Linked DNA regions of Homo sapiens: regions 1, 2 and 3 are each linked to region 4. The links are contacts of gene promoters, found by promoter capture Hi-C in blood cells and fetal thymus (Javierre and others, 2016). All regions are on one chromosome and are shown on one strand. Each heading gives the region's core, a stretch centred on a gene start or on the middle of the fragment in contact. The rest is flanking DNA. Distances are from core to core; before and after follow the strand shown.

The links. The method cuts DNA at HindIII sites, captures the fragments that hold promoters and counts their contacts. A CHiCAGO score of 5 or more calls a contact.
Region 1: a fragment that was not itself captured here is called in contact with the fragment with the promoter of CDK5RAP2 in region 4 in 11 of 17 cell types (total CD8 T cells, naive CD4 T cells, fetal thymus and 8 more); the score reaches 12.0 in total CD8 T cells.
Region 2: a contact is called between a fragment that was not itself captured here and the fragment with the promoter of CDK5RAP2 in region 4, in 1 of 17 cell types (M1 macrophages). The highest score is 5.2, in M1 macrophages.
Region 3: a contact is called between a fragment that was not itself captured here and the fragment with the promoter of CDK5RAP2 in region 4, in 4 of 17 cell types (naive CD8 T cells, naive CD4 T cells, activated CD4 T cells and 1 more). The highest score is 8.9, in naive CD8 T cells.

What each region holds. Positions count from the first base shown.
Region 1 is chr9:121,120,400-121,124,796 of GRCh38, reverse strand. CNTRL (centriolin) reads right to left here. Exons shown (of 44, transcript NM_007018.6): 13 at 713-866. Among named protein-coding and RNA genes, the nearest start is that of CNTRL, 48 kb to the right of the region's middle. RefSeq lists enhancers at 2,727-2,926, 2,957-3,006, 2,881-3,382. The HindIII fragment of the contact is 1,172 bases long and covers 2,463-3,634 here.
Region 2 is chr9:119,966,992-119,971,319 of GRCh38, reverse strand. LOC107987122 (a long non-coding RNA gene) reads left to right here and starts at 1,775. Exons shown (of 3, transcript XR_001746919.2): 1 at 1,775-2,226. RefSeq lists an enhancer at 2,458-2,958. The HindIII fragment of the contact is 3,353 bases long and covers 215-3,567 here.
Region 3 is chr9:121,193,960-121,198,262 of GRCh38, reverse strand. The region is part of intron 1 of RAB14 (RAB14, member RAS oncogene family); the gene reads left to right. Among named protein-coding and RNA genes, the nearest start is that of RAB14, 5.8 kb to the left of the region's middle. The HindIII fragment of the contact is 3,446 bases long and covers 483-3,928 here.
Region 4 is chr9:120,577,398-120,581,472 of GRCh38, reverse strand. It overlaps CDK5RAP2 (CDK5 regulatory subunit associated protein 2), which reads left to right and starts at 1,306. Exons shown (of 38, transcript NM_018249.6): 1 at 1,306-1,553. The coding sequence starts at 1,495. RefSeq lists enhancers at 1,089-1,218, 1,072-1,634. The HindIII fragment of the contact is 6,111 bases long and covers 1-4,075 here.

The DNA.
Region 1 (4,397 bases), core at 1,799-4,298, 540 kb before region 4:
CTAATTTTTTTTTTTTTTTTTTGTAGAGACGGGGTTTCGCCATGTTGCCCATGCTGATCTCGAACTCCTGGGCTCAAATGATATGCCCGCCTCAGCCTCCCAAAGTGCTAGGATTACAGGCGTGAGCCACCACTCCTGGCCTATGAATACTAGCTCATTTAATTCTCCCAACAACTAATGATTGAGATAAAAACAACTTGTCCAAGGCGACACAGCTGACAGTAGCAAAACAGAGAGCAGGATCTTTTTACACTGAGCCCTATGTGTAAAAACCACTATGGCCTATTGTCTTCCTTTTCCACTATTATGGATATGTCGCAGTTTAAATCAGCATTGCAAAACTAGATCCTAAAACTCTTTCTTCTTATAACCAGACACTGAATTCCCTGATGCCAATGGGTGCTTTGCTCCTGAATGGATTTTATGTCATAGACAATCACATGCCAGAGCTTATCATGATCACGTATTGACTTCTGGCCTACTGACTGGAATGACCTGACTCACTAGGCATCAATGCCACAAAACAAAACAAAAACAAAACTCTTAAAATTGCATTAACTACTTTTGGGTATCCTGTAAATATTTCCCTATCAAATACTAGTACTAATAGGTGAACTGTATTTAGCTACTATCTGGATTAATGCTTGTCTTTATAATGTTTCTTTTACCAGCAATAACACTGATTTACCTTAAATCATACTGAAAGTCTTACCTTCAGTAAGCTGTTCTTCAAGGTCCTTAATCTCTTCCGTTTCCTTAGCAATTCTAGAAAGTATCTCATCCAAACGACTTTCAAGTTGTTGGTACTGCTTGTTCATAATGTCAAGCTGTTGTTCTTTACCGCTCTTTTGAGCCTTCATATGGGACTGAATTAAAAAAAAAAATCAACAAAACTCCAAGTTCCTTAAACTCCTTTAAAAGTAATAACCCTTAACAACATTTTTAAAGGAAGAATAGAAAATAAATATAATAATTTGCATCTATTTGTGTCAGGCCCTATATTGTTTTCACATGGGTAGTTTTCATTTAAATTTCAGGATAACTTGATACGGAAATCATTTCCACTTTACAGGTGAGAAAACTGAGGATCAAAGAGGTTAAGTGGTTTTTCCAAGGGCACAGCTAGGTAGGTCAGTGTTATTTGCGTTGCATTAAATTGTCTCTCTCTCTCTTTTTTATTTATTTATTTATTTATTTTGAGATGGAGTCTGACTCCATCACCCAGGCTAGAGTGCAGAGGCACGATCTCAGCTCACTGCAACCTCCGCCTCCTGGGTTCAAGCAATTCTCCTGCCTCAGCCTCCCAAGTACCTGGGACTACAGGTGCGGGCCACCACACCCAGGTTGTTGTTTGTTTTTACTTTTTGTTGTTTTTTTTAGTACAGACGGGAGTTTCACCATGTTGGCCAGGCTGATCTGGAACTCCTGACCTCAAGTGATCTGCCGGCCTTGGCCTCCCAAATCGCTGGGATTACAGGCATGAGCCACCGTGCCCAGCCTAAAATGTGTCTTTTAAAAAAGGTTTCCAAAATTAGTTGGTTATGGCATATATCTATAGAAAAAGACTTAAAAACTATATCCCAAAATGCTAACAAGAATTATACCTGGGTGGAAGGATTACATGGGGATTTTTTCCTTTTGTAATGAGTATTTTTATATTTAAAAAACTTTTATAGTAGATAAGTAATGCCTTTTTAATAAAAAAATTAAATCTACTTTTTAAAAAAGGTTTCTTAGAAGAAAATAGAGGTATGAAATAGATAAAATACTTGAAATTCAAATTCACTTTCAATCTCTTACACAAACAAACATTTGGCTTTTCAATAAACTGAGAGCTGACAGGGACCTCAAAGACCACTTAGCCCGGTGAGTCTCAAAATGGAGGGCCCTAAGGAGGTATACCCCTCTACAACTACACTTAACCCATGGTGGAAAACAGAGCTTTCACACACCCACACACCCTCCCGCACCCTGAAGTCATGGCATCAGGGAACTACTGTTAACTGAAAAGAATGGATTGTATTTCTCAGGTGTGCTAGGGAAAGCAAATCGAGAGCCAATGATCTAGTCTAACCCTTCCTTTTAAACATGAGAAAACTGAATTTCAGATCCATCAAATGACTTGCATGTCTCCTGAGGCAACTGTTCATATGGAGACAAAATAATTCCCCAGAGAACCTTTGCCCTCCCACTCACACCTTCATGACTCTTAAGTTGGTACCCACAGGATCAGAGGAATACAACAATAAATGAAGAGAAAGTTATCGAAAGAGGGAACTGTATCAGTCAGAAAAATGAACACCAATGATCTCAAGTCTAAGACCCATGTGATTATAAAAGAATATTACTCAATTTTATGTATTTGCTTACCCCAAATACAAGAAAGAAACGTCTCTTCATTTCTGATGAACAAAAGAGTGGCAGCTTAACTGGAAGGTTTTTAATTTACTACTGGTAAAGCTTTATGGTATTTTGCAAACTCTTTTCCCTACACTCCCAAAATACCCATTTGAAATCTTTCTGAAAAGTTAACTACATATAACAGCTTACATTCTAAGTAAATTTCGGGTTTTTATGGCTCAAGAAATAATTTCTTAAAAGACTGCACTCATATCAATAAATCTTTAAAATTCACCATTAAAAATTCCACCAAAACCTTTATACGCAGGATAAAAATCTGGTTCAATATGCCAATGGTGTACATTAAATACATGGGAACAAAAGTAGATTCTGCGATTTACACCACGGTGGAGCTCACAAAAGAGTTATTGTAAAAACAGGAACTTACATCTCTGACTCCTCCTCCTTTTAAGTCCTTTGTACAGAGAGAGAAAAAATATCATACCTTAACTTAAAATTTATCCTGTTAAAACTGAGCCGTTGAGAACAGAGAAACTGTGGGCGGAACGCTTTCTAATGCTGTCTTCAAATTCATGTGCACTTCCCTCTCTGACAGCCACATTTTTGCAAGCGCCTCCGAGCCTCTGTAACTTCGCAGAGCCTCAAACCACATTCTTGGCCAAGAGTGAGCGGCGGCCCCGCCCATCCAATCACCAGCAGCCTCTGCGGGCAGGCCCCACCCTCCGCGAGTTAAATCATAACACAGGAAGCTCCCAGGGGCCAATCACGCCCAAACTTTGCAACAGATCACTACAGCTCGTTCCCTCTAGCGAACAGTTACCTTTTGCTTCCAATAGGACATTTCCCAATAGAGAAAAGCAATACAAATCTTCATTATGTTTGCTCCGGTGATAATTTGTGCTTCTATGAATAATTTTATAACTAAAATAGTCTGTGAATTTGAAACCTAGTTAAATGCTTATATTTGCTGAAAACCTGCCTAGGCTTAGTTCTGAGCTAATTTTAAAATAATCTCTTTAGACCTTTAATTGCTTTGTGAAGAGAGGGTCATTGTGGTAGCATAAGCAAGGGCTCCACCTCTTTCTAAAACAATAACTTAGGGGCAATTCACTTAATATTTCTATATCACATTTTCATCCTCTGCAAATTGAAAGAAAAATGGATAGATGTTAATAAAAGTTCCTCACCAGAACATGGAAAATACAGCACAATGTATGACACATTGTGGGCACTTAATATGTTGCTTTCTATAATATCTCATCAAAGTGAAGCTTTTACTTTTAAATTCTATTGGCTATTCAGAAAGATACTTCATCTGATTACATAAAAATTAATTAAATAAAAGTCTACCTATATCTATAGAAAAATATGCAGGCATCTCACTCTTGATTATTTCTCTTCTGCTTAAAGGCTCACATTTTGTAGCCTAAAATGGGATGCCAAACACTAGCCAATATGAAACTTTGTGAATCAGAAAAAGATGTTCCCGCTGGATAAACTTAAAAGAGATGTCCTCTGATGCTAGGACTAAGGCTGCAAACTTAAGAACTATTAGTAATTTTAATAAAATTAAAAAGGAAATTCAAATCTGGTTTGTATGTTTCATCCCCACTGCACAGGTTGATTTTAGCTAACTTCAAAACTTGGATGCCATTCCCATGTCTCATTTACCTCCTTTCCATGTATAATTCTCTACAGAAATCCAGTGGGAATTGAACTCTCTGTCCGCCAGAAATATAACAGTCATTTGTTGAAAGCAAACACATAATCCAGCTACTAATTAGACTCATAGATCACAGAACTGGAAGGGGAAGCAAAGGAGTTTTGGGTAGGATCTATAAGCTGCTTCCTTCCTCCCTTCCACAATGCAAGCATTCATAAACATAGGGCTGGTTGGTCCCTGGGGATACGGATACCAGTAGGATAGAGTTCATGTCTTCAGGGACCTTACATGGGTGGGAGATTGAACAAACATATGCAATAAAGTAAGATATTATTGACCACATTATACATTACTTAAAATACCCCATTTTTCC
Region 2 (4,328 bases), core at 642-3,141, 610 kb after region 4:
GGCAAAACCTTGTTTATCTTCCGACCTCTTCACAAAGAGGTCTGGTGGGTATAAGGCGCACATACTGCTACTCATTCCCACCAATCTCAAGGCAGACATCACCAATTTATTTCAGCACTCTTATGCATGGACACCAACACGGCCTTGGGTAACTTCTCGGATTAGAACTCCAGGCAGCCAAGACTAATTGGAATCAGCACAGGAATTGAAAGCTTTCTTTATCTTTGCTTTAGCTAATTGCTGGACATTAACTCCCTTTATGTTAATGAGAGATGAGATAATCCCTCAGCTACCAGAGCCTGGAGGGACAGAGAAAGTTTTATGGAGAAGCAAAAGATGACAGAGAAAGAAGAAGGGAAGGTACATCAGAATGTCCAAGAACAGGGCACTGAGCTGCTGGCACACAGCATAAGCCCTGCCTTCAGAAGTTAATAAGCCACACGCAAGGCACCTAGCATGCGCCTGTCACACATGGGTGCTCAATATCCAATGGTCCTCTTCCTGCTTGTTTGCTTCCCTCACTGTTTGGTCAGGTCTCCGAACTAAGGCACCTTGCTGCCATATTGCCCATAGAGTTCAACCCAACTTTAATGATAATCAAGAACCATTGGGCTGAGCGCGGTGGCTGGGTGTAATCCCAGCACTTTGGGAGGCCAAGGCGGGCGGATCACGAGGTCAGGAGATGGAGACCATCCTGGCTAACATGGTGAAACCCCTTCTCAACTAAAAAAAAAAAAAAAAAGCCAGGGGTGGTGGCGGGTGCTTGTAGTCCTAGCTACTCGGGAGGCTGAGGCAGGAGAATGGCATGAACCCGGGAGGTGGAGCTTGCATTGAGCCGAGATTGTGCCACTGCACTCCAGCCTGGGCGACAGAGTGGAGACTCTGTCTCAAAAAACAAAAAAAACAAAACAAAAAAAAACAAAAACAGAATCATTGGCCAGGTGTGGTGGCTCACACTTGTAATCCCAGCACTTTGGGAGGCCGAGGTGGGTGGGTCACAAGGTCAGGAGATCGAGACCATCCTGGTCAACATGGTGAAACCCCATCTCTACTAAAAATACAAAAAATTAGATGGGCGTGGTGGCGTGTGCCTGTAATCCCAGCTACTCGGGAGGCCGAGGCAGGAGAATCGCTTGAACTAGGGAGTCGGAGGTTCCAGTGAGCCGAGATCGTGCCACTGCACTCCAGCCTGGCAACAGAGTGAGACTCCATCTAAAAAAATAAAATAAAATAAAATAAAATAAACCATTAACATTTACCAAGCATTTATCACGAGCATTTATCACGTATCAGAAATCCTTCTCAGTACTTTCTATAGATTATGTTAACTTAGCCTCCTAATATCCTCGTGAGGTGGATACTATGATATTTCCCATTTTACAGATAAATAACAAAGGGCCCAGAGAAGTTAAGTTATGCTCCAGCTAGCCAGTAGTGGAGCTGGGATCTGAACCTATAGGCTTCTGCTGTTGAGGACAGTGGGATCATGCTGCCTTCCTGCACCACTGTGAGCCTGGCCCTGTGCCGGTGATAGGAGGTGAAGGGCATAGTCCTTGACATCAAGGGGCTTTTGTTCTGGCAGTAGAGGCTGGTGGTGAGCCATCCTTGGAAGGTTTCTGGGGGTGACTGGTCAGAAAAGGAGGAGCTGCGGTCAAGCAGGTGAGGTGTTGGAGGCTGAGATCCGGGTGTCAATGTTCAAAGTTTGAATTTGTACTCTATTGAGGCAAGGGGTAACCCAGGGGTATAAGAACTGAAGACACTAGAAATACTGCATTCTCTATTTCTAAAAGTCAAAGACTGTGTGATTCTAAGACTCCACCCCTATAGCTTAGAGAGTTAATTTTTCTATAATTTCATAATTCCTACATGCTAGAATTAAAAGGTTCTATGATCTCACATTTCATTTTATTATAGAATCCACCCACAGAGCCAGAAGCAGGCTTCCCCGCATCCCCTTTGGTTATGTTTGGGAATCACTGCGGCTTTCCTTGCCTTCTGGCTGTTGCCGCTGTTGCCCTCTAGATGGCGCCCAGCCTTCTGAGCAATAGTGCAGGACACCGGCCCGGAGACTGCACAGCTCCAGAGAGCTTCGAGGGCCAAGTCTGCAGTTTGGTTGCTTCCTCCTGAAATCAACGTGGGAGTCTTAAAAGCACGGGGAGAATAGTCTACTCAGCAGGGAGCATTTCGGGATGATGCAGCCATTCATAGGAAGCATGGAGAGGCTTGGTAAGTGTCATGCCAAACAAGCACCCTGAAAGAGGATTGTCATCACTGCTTTGCAAATGAGGAAGCTGAGGCGCGGAGCGGTGAGGTAACTTGGTTCAGGCCCCAGAGTTAGTAAATGGTAGAGCAGGTCTCAAGCCCACCTCTCTTCTAGTCCGGCTTTTCACTGCAGAGGCTGCCTCCAGAAGGACACTAGGAAAGGAGTGGGGAACATAACATGGCCCCTGGCAGCCAGTGCTGTGGTGCGGAGGGCCCATGGGTCCTAAGGGCCCAGAGGAGGCAGCCCCCCTGTGGCCCCAGCTCACCAGGGGGGCTCACTAGGACCACTGCAACTTCTTCTCCAGGAGTCTTCCTGCCTTCTGGCAGTTCCTCCTCTGCACCAGTTGGCGACCTCTTTGTGATGCAATCTGACCACTTCACTCGTTCCTTAGAATCCTTCAGCAGCTTCCCATTGCCTATGCATTTCAAAATGTCTGCCTTGAAATTTAAGCCTCTATGGTCATGGACCCCCCCATATCTGCAACCTCTTTTCATACACTTTATCTACTCTTCAACCATGATCAGCTTTTGGCTTCCTCCTTTGCTTTAAGGACCCTTGTGATTATATATTAGACCCACCTGAATAATTGAGGCTAATCTGCCCATTTCAGAGCCAGCTGACTGGCAACCCTGATTCCATCTGCAACCTTAATCCCCACTTCCTGTGGAAGGCAATGTATTCACAGCTTCTGGTGATTAAGACTTGGACATCTCTAGGAGGACATTATTATGCCTAGCACCTGTTCCATGTTCTCTCTGGCCTGCATACTTTTGCCTAAAATGCCATTTCCCCCTTCCACAACTGGAAAACTCCTATTCTTTCTTAAGGATTTAGCTCCAGTGTTGCCTCCCTTGTGAATTCTCTCCTGAGAGCAGTTAGATGCTCCTCCCTCTTTTGGGTTCCTACATTACCTTGTGTGTGCGTGTGCACGTGTGCGTGCATGTGTATAACACTTCTCAGACTGTAATTTTACTATTTGTTCTCTTGATCGTGAGCTCCCGACAAGAGTAACCTGATTTACTCAGCTCTGTTTACTCAGTACCTGTTTACTGCCTGATACAGTGTTTGTGTTCAAGAAAAGTTTATTGAGTAGGAGAATGAATATAGTGAAAGCTGGAAGTTGGGAAGCCTGCTATATTTTAATTTAATTTTTCAATTTTAATTACGAATTTTGGACATCCCCTTTCTGGGACTCAGTTCTCCCACCCTGTAGAATTCATGTCAGGAATTAGAGGAACTTGGTCTCAGTTATGATTAGGCACAGCTGAGAGTGCTTACAGAGTAGCTTAAATGGGGTGAAAGCTTATTTCTTGTTCACTTGAAAGTCCACGGCTGCTAGTGGCTGGACTTGTTGCCCATGAAAGAAACCAGGAAGAGCAATTCTAAAGAGATGTCCAATAACAAAGTATCATTCTTCTAGCATTGAAGTCATCAGCCTGGTGGCTGAGATCTTTCCAAGTTTCCAGATCTTTTACCTGAGGTGGTGTGGAGGCAAGGGATGATTAGATTGACAACTAATCTCAACCCTTACCTGCCACTTACCTCCCAATCAAGTGGTGGTCATACCATTGGTCATGTGATAGCACCCAGCTCTTTCCAATTCATCCCTCCACCATCTCTATGATGTGCCCTTTGACTTCAAGGTCCAAGGAGAAACTCTAGCCATCATATCCATGTTTGTCACAGAATTATGGAGGAAGGCAGGGAGGAAAGGGCAGACGATACCCAACAAACAACTGTATCTTCAGAGAGGTTTGTGAAAGTTTCCACTCAACACCTGTGTTTGCGTCCATTCACTAGAATTAAGTCACATGGCCACACCTAGCTGCAAGGGAAGCTGAAGAATGTACCCTCTATTCTGGGCAGCTAGATTCTGTTGTTATGAAACAAGGGGAGCATGGATATTAGGGGGCCCTCTAGCAGCCTCTGCCGTAAGCTGTAATTTTCCAAGGATTAAGAAGGTGAAGAGGGGCATGCTGGCATCTTTGATGTATCATGACTCATCCTAAAGAAGTTTAGTAGTAACAGGAATGCAGTGAATCTGGAGGAAGGCAAAGGCCTTTAC
Region 3 (4,303 bases), core at 956-3,455, 620 kb before region 4:
TTGTTTGTTTTTGTTTGGGTATTCTTTAACCTGTATTAAAATAGAAAAGGGCTTTTGAAATATTTATCGGTAGAGAAAATTTTATTTTTAATTCATTATAGTAAGTCAGTGCAGGGATATATAAAGAAAAGTTAATAATTTCTCTATTCCCTGTTTCTCCTGTCCATGTATTTTTCACAATTTGGTGTGTATTCCATATTATATGAATATAGGGTTGAGTGTGTGTGTGTGTGTGTGTGTGTTTGAAAGTGGGGTATGCTGTTGCATAAAACTCTGCAACATGTGTTTTTTCACTTAACAAAATCATGGATGTATTTCCAGGTTAATGCATATCAATCAAAATGGTTTCTAAACTACATGGATATTATTTTGTATTATAGATGTACTTTATTCAGTCATTTCTTTGCTGATTATTTCCAGTTTTTTGCTGTAAAAATGGTGCATTAAATGCACTAATACCTGTAGCCTTATGGGCTGAAGCTTTTGTATATGTAGGATACTTTCTGGGCCAAAGGATGATTTGGATTATTGTTAAGATTTTTAAACATACTGATTACTTTCCAAAATGTTGGCACATTTCCACAAGCAGTATGTATGAAAGTGTATACCTTCACATCTGTACCTACATGTTTCAAAACTAGTCGTTTATATGTCTGTGTAATCTTAGAAAGGTGTCTGATTCAGTAAATAGAAACCATGCATTCTATTTTTGTCACAACAATAATTAGTGTTTAATATTTGTTCAGTAACCACTTAGATCTAAATGTACTGACATGAAAATGTGTCTATCATTTTGTTGAGTAAAAGAAATATGCAGAATTTTACAAGATGGCGTACCCCATTTTAAAATACATTTTTCACCTTAACAGTGGTGAAAATGGTGGTGAAAAATGGTATATTTTCACAGTGGTGAAATGGTATGTTTCCCCAGTGGTGAAAACTGGTATGTTTCATGTTCAGGAGATGAGGTTGAGAAATCCTTTATTAAAGCAATATTAAGCATATTAATATTTTTAAGGAGTCAGTTGAATACATGGCACAGTTGTTAGTGTTTACTATGCATTTAGTAAATATTTCTCTTGGCAGCAAGGGTAGTTTATAGCTAAATTTTACATGCACTAATATCCTTCCTCTTTCTCTGATTTTTATTTTATCAGTCTACCTGTACATACCTGAAATAAGCTAATAATACCTTAGAGAAAATCATGGTCTTTGGAATCAGGCCTGGGTTCAAGTTCTAGGTCTACCATTTACAAACTTTATAACATTGGCCAAATGAGTGAATTTCTCCAAACCTCAGTTTCTTTAATTTTTTGCATGGACATAATGATAATGACTCTGCAGAGTTGTGAGAATTAAGTAAGAATTATAAAAAGTAGTATAGATCATTACATGGTTTACTCTCAAGTGTTCTCAAGAAACTTTTTCTAAGTAAATGAATTATAGTATTATAAGTTAGTATTACTAGTATTACCAGTCATTTATATCTATAAATTCTGACTGCAGTGCATCCTCTGAATGTAATTCATGTATCTTATTCAGAATATTAAATTATAATTAAGCGAGTGAATACTGCAGAGCTACATGGTACAGCTGATAACCATGTGGAGGAGGCACGACGGTGGAGAGGGCAGGATGGTGTGGTGGTTAAGAGGGGATCTCTGTAGTTAAAACAGTCCTAGGTTCAGTACAGACTTGGCTGTGTGACCTGGGCATGTTACCTCTTGAGTCTGTGTCCTCATCTGTAAAATGAGGATAATAATTAACTATGTTATAGGATAGTAGTAAGGATTAAATGAAATTGTATGTAAAATATTTAGCACATTGCCCGGCATATGTCAAGTACCCAATAAATAGTAACTCACAATTGTATTTCTTATTAGTTTGCAAATTGTTGATTATGTGTTAAATGCCTGTTGTCTAAATATGTGGTACTTTTTTTCCTTTAAAGGCAATAAAGATCTTTTACTTACATATGAACTTGATTCGAATACTTTCTGTAAAATGTGGAATAAAGTGAATTTTAATTGTCCCGGTAGTTGTATACAAGTTATAGAATATTACCAGGATTTTTTTTTTCATTTATGGGGATTGTAATGTTAAGTGGGCTCATGTTTTCAGAGTTTGAACCAGACCAGCATTTCCTGTCCTTTTTTTTAGACTCAAGAGTTCTCTAAGTAAAGCAAAAGTACTGTTAAATAATAGGGGAAGAATTTTTTCCCTTCCAAAGTTAGGTAAAAATATATTCCTCACCTTAACAATAGTATGTTTCATGTTCAAGAAATGAGACTGAGAAATCTTTTGTTAAAGCAACATTAAGCCTATTTAGTATTGAATATAATTCTACTGCAAATACTTTTGACTGAAATGTATTAATATCAGTCAACTATGGGAATATATTTAAATCTAGACAGTATCTTCTTAGAATAAGAAAGGGAAGACCTGTTGTGAGTGTTGGTGGCTACAGTGTTAAATGTTTTCTGCCTTTGTTTACTGAAATTAGTAAGTTTGAGTAGTTTTCCTTTAATTCTGCTTTTATGGTTTTTATTTGTAATTTTTAAAGAAACGAGCAAGAAAAATGTGTGGTGTGGTGAGACAGAGCCCTGGTATTAAATCCGAAATAGTGATCATTTCTTTTATTTGGAAATAGTTTCTACTATATGAATGTTTGTAATTTTAAGATACATTTTCAAAATTAGTTATCTCACATTTAATGAATGTATGATAATTAGCAGGTACACAAATTAGTACAACTAAAATTGGGTCACAATTTTATGATAGTCTTTAAAGCATTTGAAGTAGAAATTTGGGATTGTTAGAAGTCATAGCTTTAACATAAAATAGAAGGAGCAAAGTATGTACAGCTACAACCTTTAGTTAGAAGAGGGAAAGAAATTAGGAAAATCAAGGGAGAAGAGCACAGAAGAGACAGTAATTTGAAGGTGACTAAGTGATTACTTTTACCCAGGTTTGAATGGGGAAAGAATTTAGAAGAATTAAAAATTGATTAGAAGAGTCGGAAGAATTCAAGTTAAGAAGTTAATAATCTTTAAATATTTTTAATGTAAGAGATTACTTTTCCCCCTTGTGTTTGGCATCTGGTTCAGAGATCAGGTAAATAATCCAGACCAGTTTTAGTCTCAGGACCAAGTTCATTCTTAAAAGTTTTGAGTTCCTAGTGCCTGGAAAAGGGAATAAAGTTGTTGTGATGTTCAGAATCAGTTAATCTAACTAGAAAAACTCCCTTTCCTGAAAGAACTGGTTAAGGGAGTTTTCTGTGATGCAGGAGACTGATTATAAATGTGTTAGAACATGCCAAACTGGAATGGGTAACAAGGCTTCTACTTTCACTAAATGTAATACAGATAGCTAAGTGAGAAGACTGTAGTGTGTGGAAGTGATTAATACTTTACTGTAATTAACAACTTCCTCTTCCCTTATAATAATACACTTGTTTTAAATATATATTCTTTCTACGGGTTCAATGTTGTTATATAGAACTTTTGCTTGAAATATGGTATATAGTAAGGTGATAATTTCAGTAAATAAATTTCTCCAGTCATATTAAATGTCTGGCTTGTGTAATGTGACATTGACAGAAACACTAAAAGCCAGGCTTAAAAATACTGTAAGTCAGATTTTTTTAAATGGGTGAAATCTTTATATGTATAAATAATTTTTGTCTTAAGCTGAAAGCTGGTTTGAGAATAAACTTTATTGAAAGTTATTACCAGTTTTACAGTTCAGCCCCTTGTTTCTCTCTAGGACCTAGCACGTGTCTTACACATTCAGATAATTCATTTGAATAAATTGGAAAGTTTTTTGTTTTCTTTTTAAGTAGAAGAGAAATTAGAATTCTTTAGGTTAAGTCTATTTGAGGGTAAGAAATGGGCTGTGATCTTTTGAAATATCTTCTAATACACAAGCTTTCAAATTTTGCAACCATAAGTACAATTTTATGACATTATTTCTTTCAGTCCCTAGAATAGTGTATGGGAAGCACTTACTATGTTGTTAATCTGGCTGGGCACAGTGGCTCATGCCTGTAATCCTAGCACTTTGGGAGACTGAGATGGGAGGGACGCTTAAGGCCAGGAGTTCAAGACCCAAGACCAGCCTGGTCTTCAAAAAATGTGTGTGTGTGTGTGTGTGTGTGTGTGTGTGTGTGAGTGATAATCTGCAAGTCCTGTATTAGGTTGAGCTATATGAAAATGCCAATAAACTTTGACTTGAAAAATCTATAGGAAGAACAGTTTCATGTGATTCAGTCTAGTTCCAACATTGATTTGGAAATCATACGATT
Region 4 (4,075 bases), core at 57-2,556:
GAGGGCCTGGTGCAGTGGCTCAGGCCTATAACCCCAGCACTTTGGGAGGCCAAGGTGGGAGGATTGCTTGAGGCCAGGAGTTCAAGACCAGCCTGGGCAACATAGTGAGACCCTGTCTCTATTTAAAAAAAAAAAAAAAAGAATGAGGAAACAGGGTGAAAGGGGAATTGTTCAAGATTACTGGGAAAGTCACTATCTATCCACTCACCAACCATTTCAAGTTATTTTCATCGGGCTCTCTCACAAGGGCCTGCAGAGGAAGGAGCAACACTGAGTTGAGGAGGGGAAGGTTAATTTCATTGCTTAAGCTCTGCCAAGATTATCTAAGTGTTTGGTGATTGCTATGTGCTTTAAGAAAGGCAGCCAAGGGGCCGGTGCTGTGGCTCACGCCTGTAATCCCAGCAGTTTGGAAGGCCGGGGTGGGCAGATCACGAGGTCAGGAGATTGAGACCATCCTGGCCAACATGGTGAAACCCCGTCTCTACTAAACATACAAAAATTACCCGGGTGTGGTGGCGCAAGGCCGAGGCAGAAGAATCGCTTAAACCCAGAAGGTGAAGGTTGCAGTGAGCTGAGATCGGGCCACTGCACTCCAGCCTGGCGACAGAGGCACCATTTCAAAAAAAAAAAAAAAGAAAGGCAGCCAGGGTTATGCAGAGAGCCCTCATCTAGTTGGCAGGAGCTGCAGACCCCCACTCCAGTTGAAAGACATTGTCAATACTTAATTACTTTGGGAGAGTCCTTTCCTCTTGCTGGCCCTCAGTTTTCTGACCACAGGTGCCTTTGAGTCCTAATGGTAATAAAAGACCAATAGGTGAGAGACTGGAGTGGGAGTGCTGTTGACCACTGGCTCATGGGAATGAGTTATTTGCTTCAAACTAAGTCTGCAAATTACTGTTTGCCTTGAGATTCCGCACGTAGTATTTTTCCAAAGCAAGGCAGCACTCAGTTATCTGAGTTTCAACTTAAGGTCAAATCCCAAAGTTTTGGGGTCATTATTCTAGAAAAGCAAACACGAGGTTAGGAACTTTGAGGATTCCTGAGTGGCTGTATTCATTTCCATCTCCCGCGTAAATTAACGGACTAGGGCCCGCTTTGGCCCTCAACAAAGATGGCACCCGCCCTCGCCTCTCCCTAAGTGCCCTCACAAAAAATGGCAGCCGGCCTTTTTTTGTCTCTTATTTTTGCTTGGCTTAAGCACGGATGCTTTGCCCTTAGTTAAGATGGCACCTATCCCCGCTTCCCTGCCCGTCCTCTGGCGCCAGCCGGTCGGCTTCACTGCGTGCGCCTCCGTGACCCCGCCTCGTTTCCGTAGGAAGAAGCGCCGGGAAAGATGGCGGCGTCTGTGGTTTGAATTCCAGCGGCGCCGCCAGAGTCTGAACAAGAGCTGGGGTGGAGGGGGCGGGGACCTGGGGAGCCCGGCGGGTCGCTATCGCGGGGGGTACTAGTGGCGCCGCCGCCACAGACACCAACGCTGTCGCCACCTCTGTAGCCATGATGGACTTGGTGTTGGAAGAGGACGTCACCGTCCCTGGGACGCTCAGCGGCTGCAGGTGCGGCCGGGGCATTGGTGGTCGTGGTAACCGGGCCGGGGTTCCAGCTGGTGGGATTTCGTTCTAACGCGGCCTTGGGGTTTGCTCTTGAGGGTGTCTGGCCAGGGGCAGTGTGTGGGGTGGGTTCCTTCGGAGAGGGTCTCTGGGGGGCCCACCACCTGACACTCTGGAGGGCTGGGAGCCGCGACCTGCACCACAATTGCCAGTAGCATTGCGCCATGTACTTTGTAGAGCGTGTGAAGAACAGGTAAGGAGTTTTCTGAAAGAGTAGGACGAGGGTGGGGCCACTTGGAGTATCCCGTTAGTGGGGATTGGTGGAGAACAGGGACCTTGAGGGCACCTGATGGTTCCTTCTGGTTTGAGAGTTTGTTTTCATTATGGAGAGAGTGTAGCCGGTATGCCCAGACTTTGCTTTTTGGGTCACATAGTGGCCACCCAGGAGGCAATGGAGTGCAATGATTAAGAACCTTGGCTAGAGTTGGACAAAACTGGATTCAAATCCAGCCCTGTAAACTGACTAGCTGTGTGACCTTGGTAAAGTGATTTCACCGGCTTTCCCATCTGTAAAATGGGCTAGTAATATCCACCCAACAGAGTTGGGGTGAGGATTAAAAGAGGTGATGCCTGTCGAGCCATTTGCTTGGCAGGTGTAGTGCCTGCCACATAATCAGTGCTTAAAAAATGATCTTGTGTTGCCATTAGTGTCATTATTACTACTGTCATCAAAGGTGATATGAATCAGGGAATAATGGCCAAGAGTGGCCTCCCATGGACCTGCCCCAAGAGACTGTGGGAGTCCCCATTGCTGGTGGAGCTGGGGTCTGGTAGGAAGGCCTAACAGAGCGCAACTCTGCTCCACGGCTGGCCCCTGTGGTTGTCCTAGACTCCTGGTTGGAGAGTGAGTAGAGGGAAGAGGAGGAGAGCCCTGACGGAGAACCTGCACTGTTTATCCAGCTCTACTATGGACAAGCTGCTGCTTTTAGTCAACAGATCCTAATTGAAAGGGTGACCATGTTATTTATTGTGCTAACTGGGACACTTAAGAGTGAAAAGAGCCAGGTGCGGTGGCTCACCTGTGTAATCCTAGCCCTTGGGGAGGCCGAGGTGGGCCGATTTCTTGAGCTCAGGAGTGTGAGATCAGCCTGGGCAACATGGTGAAATCCTATCTCTACAAAAACTACAAAGATTAGCCAGGCGTGGTGGCATGCACTTGTAGTCCCAGCCGCTCGGGAGGCTGAGGCAGGAGGATTGCATGAGCCCGGAAGGTTGATGCTGCAGTGAGCTGTGTTCATGCCACTGCACTGTAGCCTGGGTGACAAAGTGAGACTCTATCTTTAAAAAAAAAAAAAAGGAAAGTGAAAATAATTAATATTTATGCCCGGGCAGCAGACATAAAGAGGGCCTATCTTGGGTAAACCTGGACAAATGGTTTTTCTGTTTATTGAGAACCTTCATGTATGAGGCACAGACTAAGATGCTTTGCAGTTCCTGTCTAATTGGGTCCTGTGATATTTCATCATGCCCTTTTCTATCTATTTTACATCCACTGCCCCAATATATTGGGAGTATGGCTTCTCTCTTGTATTGTCCTTTGCACCTCTAATAGTTTTTTATACTACAATTTGAAAACTATTTTTTATTTATTTATTTTTTTGAGACGGAGTCTTGCTTTGTGACCAGGCTGGAGTGCAGTGGCGCGATCTCGGCTCACTTCAACCTCCGCCTCCCGGGTTCAAGCAATTCTCCTGCCTGAGCCTCCGGAGTAGCTGGGATTACAGGAGTGCACCACCGTGCGTGGCTAATTTTTGTATTTTAGTAGAGACGGGATTTCACCATGTTGGCCAGGATGGTCTCCATCTCCTGATCTCATGATCTGCTCTCCTTGGCCTCCCAAAGTTCTGGGATTACAGGCGTGAGCCACCGCGCCCGGCGTGAGAACTATTTTTTAAATATAAATCTGCTCTTCACAGTCTGCTGCTTTATACTTTTAATGCTGCTTATTGCTGTTATCATAACTTCCATTATTATTCTCTCAGATAGCCATTCTTATTTCAGTGCTTTTTGGCCAGACACTTGGGTTTTGGGGTCCCAGGCCTAGCTGGGTTTTAATCCCAGTTCTGCTACTTAACAACCCCTTGATCTGGGGCAAGTCACTCATCATCTGTGAGCCTCAGTGTTTATCATCTGTAAAAGGGGTTGGTATAAAGCCTAGGGTTGGCATAAGGATTAAAATGAATCTTAAAAAGTTTAGCTCAGTGTCTGACCCAGAGTAACTACTCAACAGATCAGCAAATATTCTCCTTTCCCTCATCTCCCTGCCTTTGCAGGACGTAGATACTGCATACATTCCATCTTAACCATTTTAAAGCATGGTTCAGTTGTATTAAATATATTTGTATTATTGCTCAACGGTCACCACTATCTATCTTCGTAACTCTCCATCTTGCAAAACAGAAACTGTGTCCCTGTTAAAACAGTAACTCCCTATTCCCCCCTTCTCCCAGCCTCTGACAATCACCATT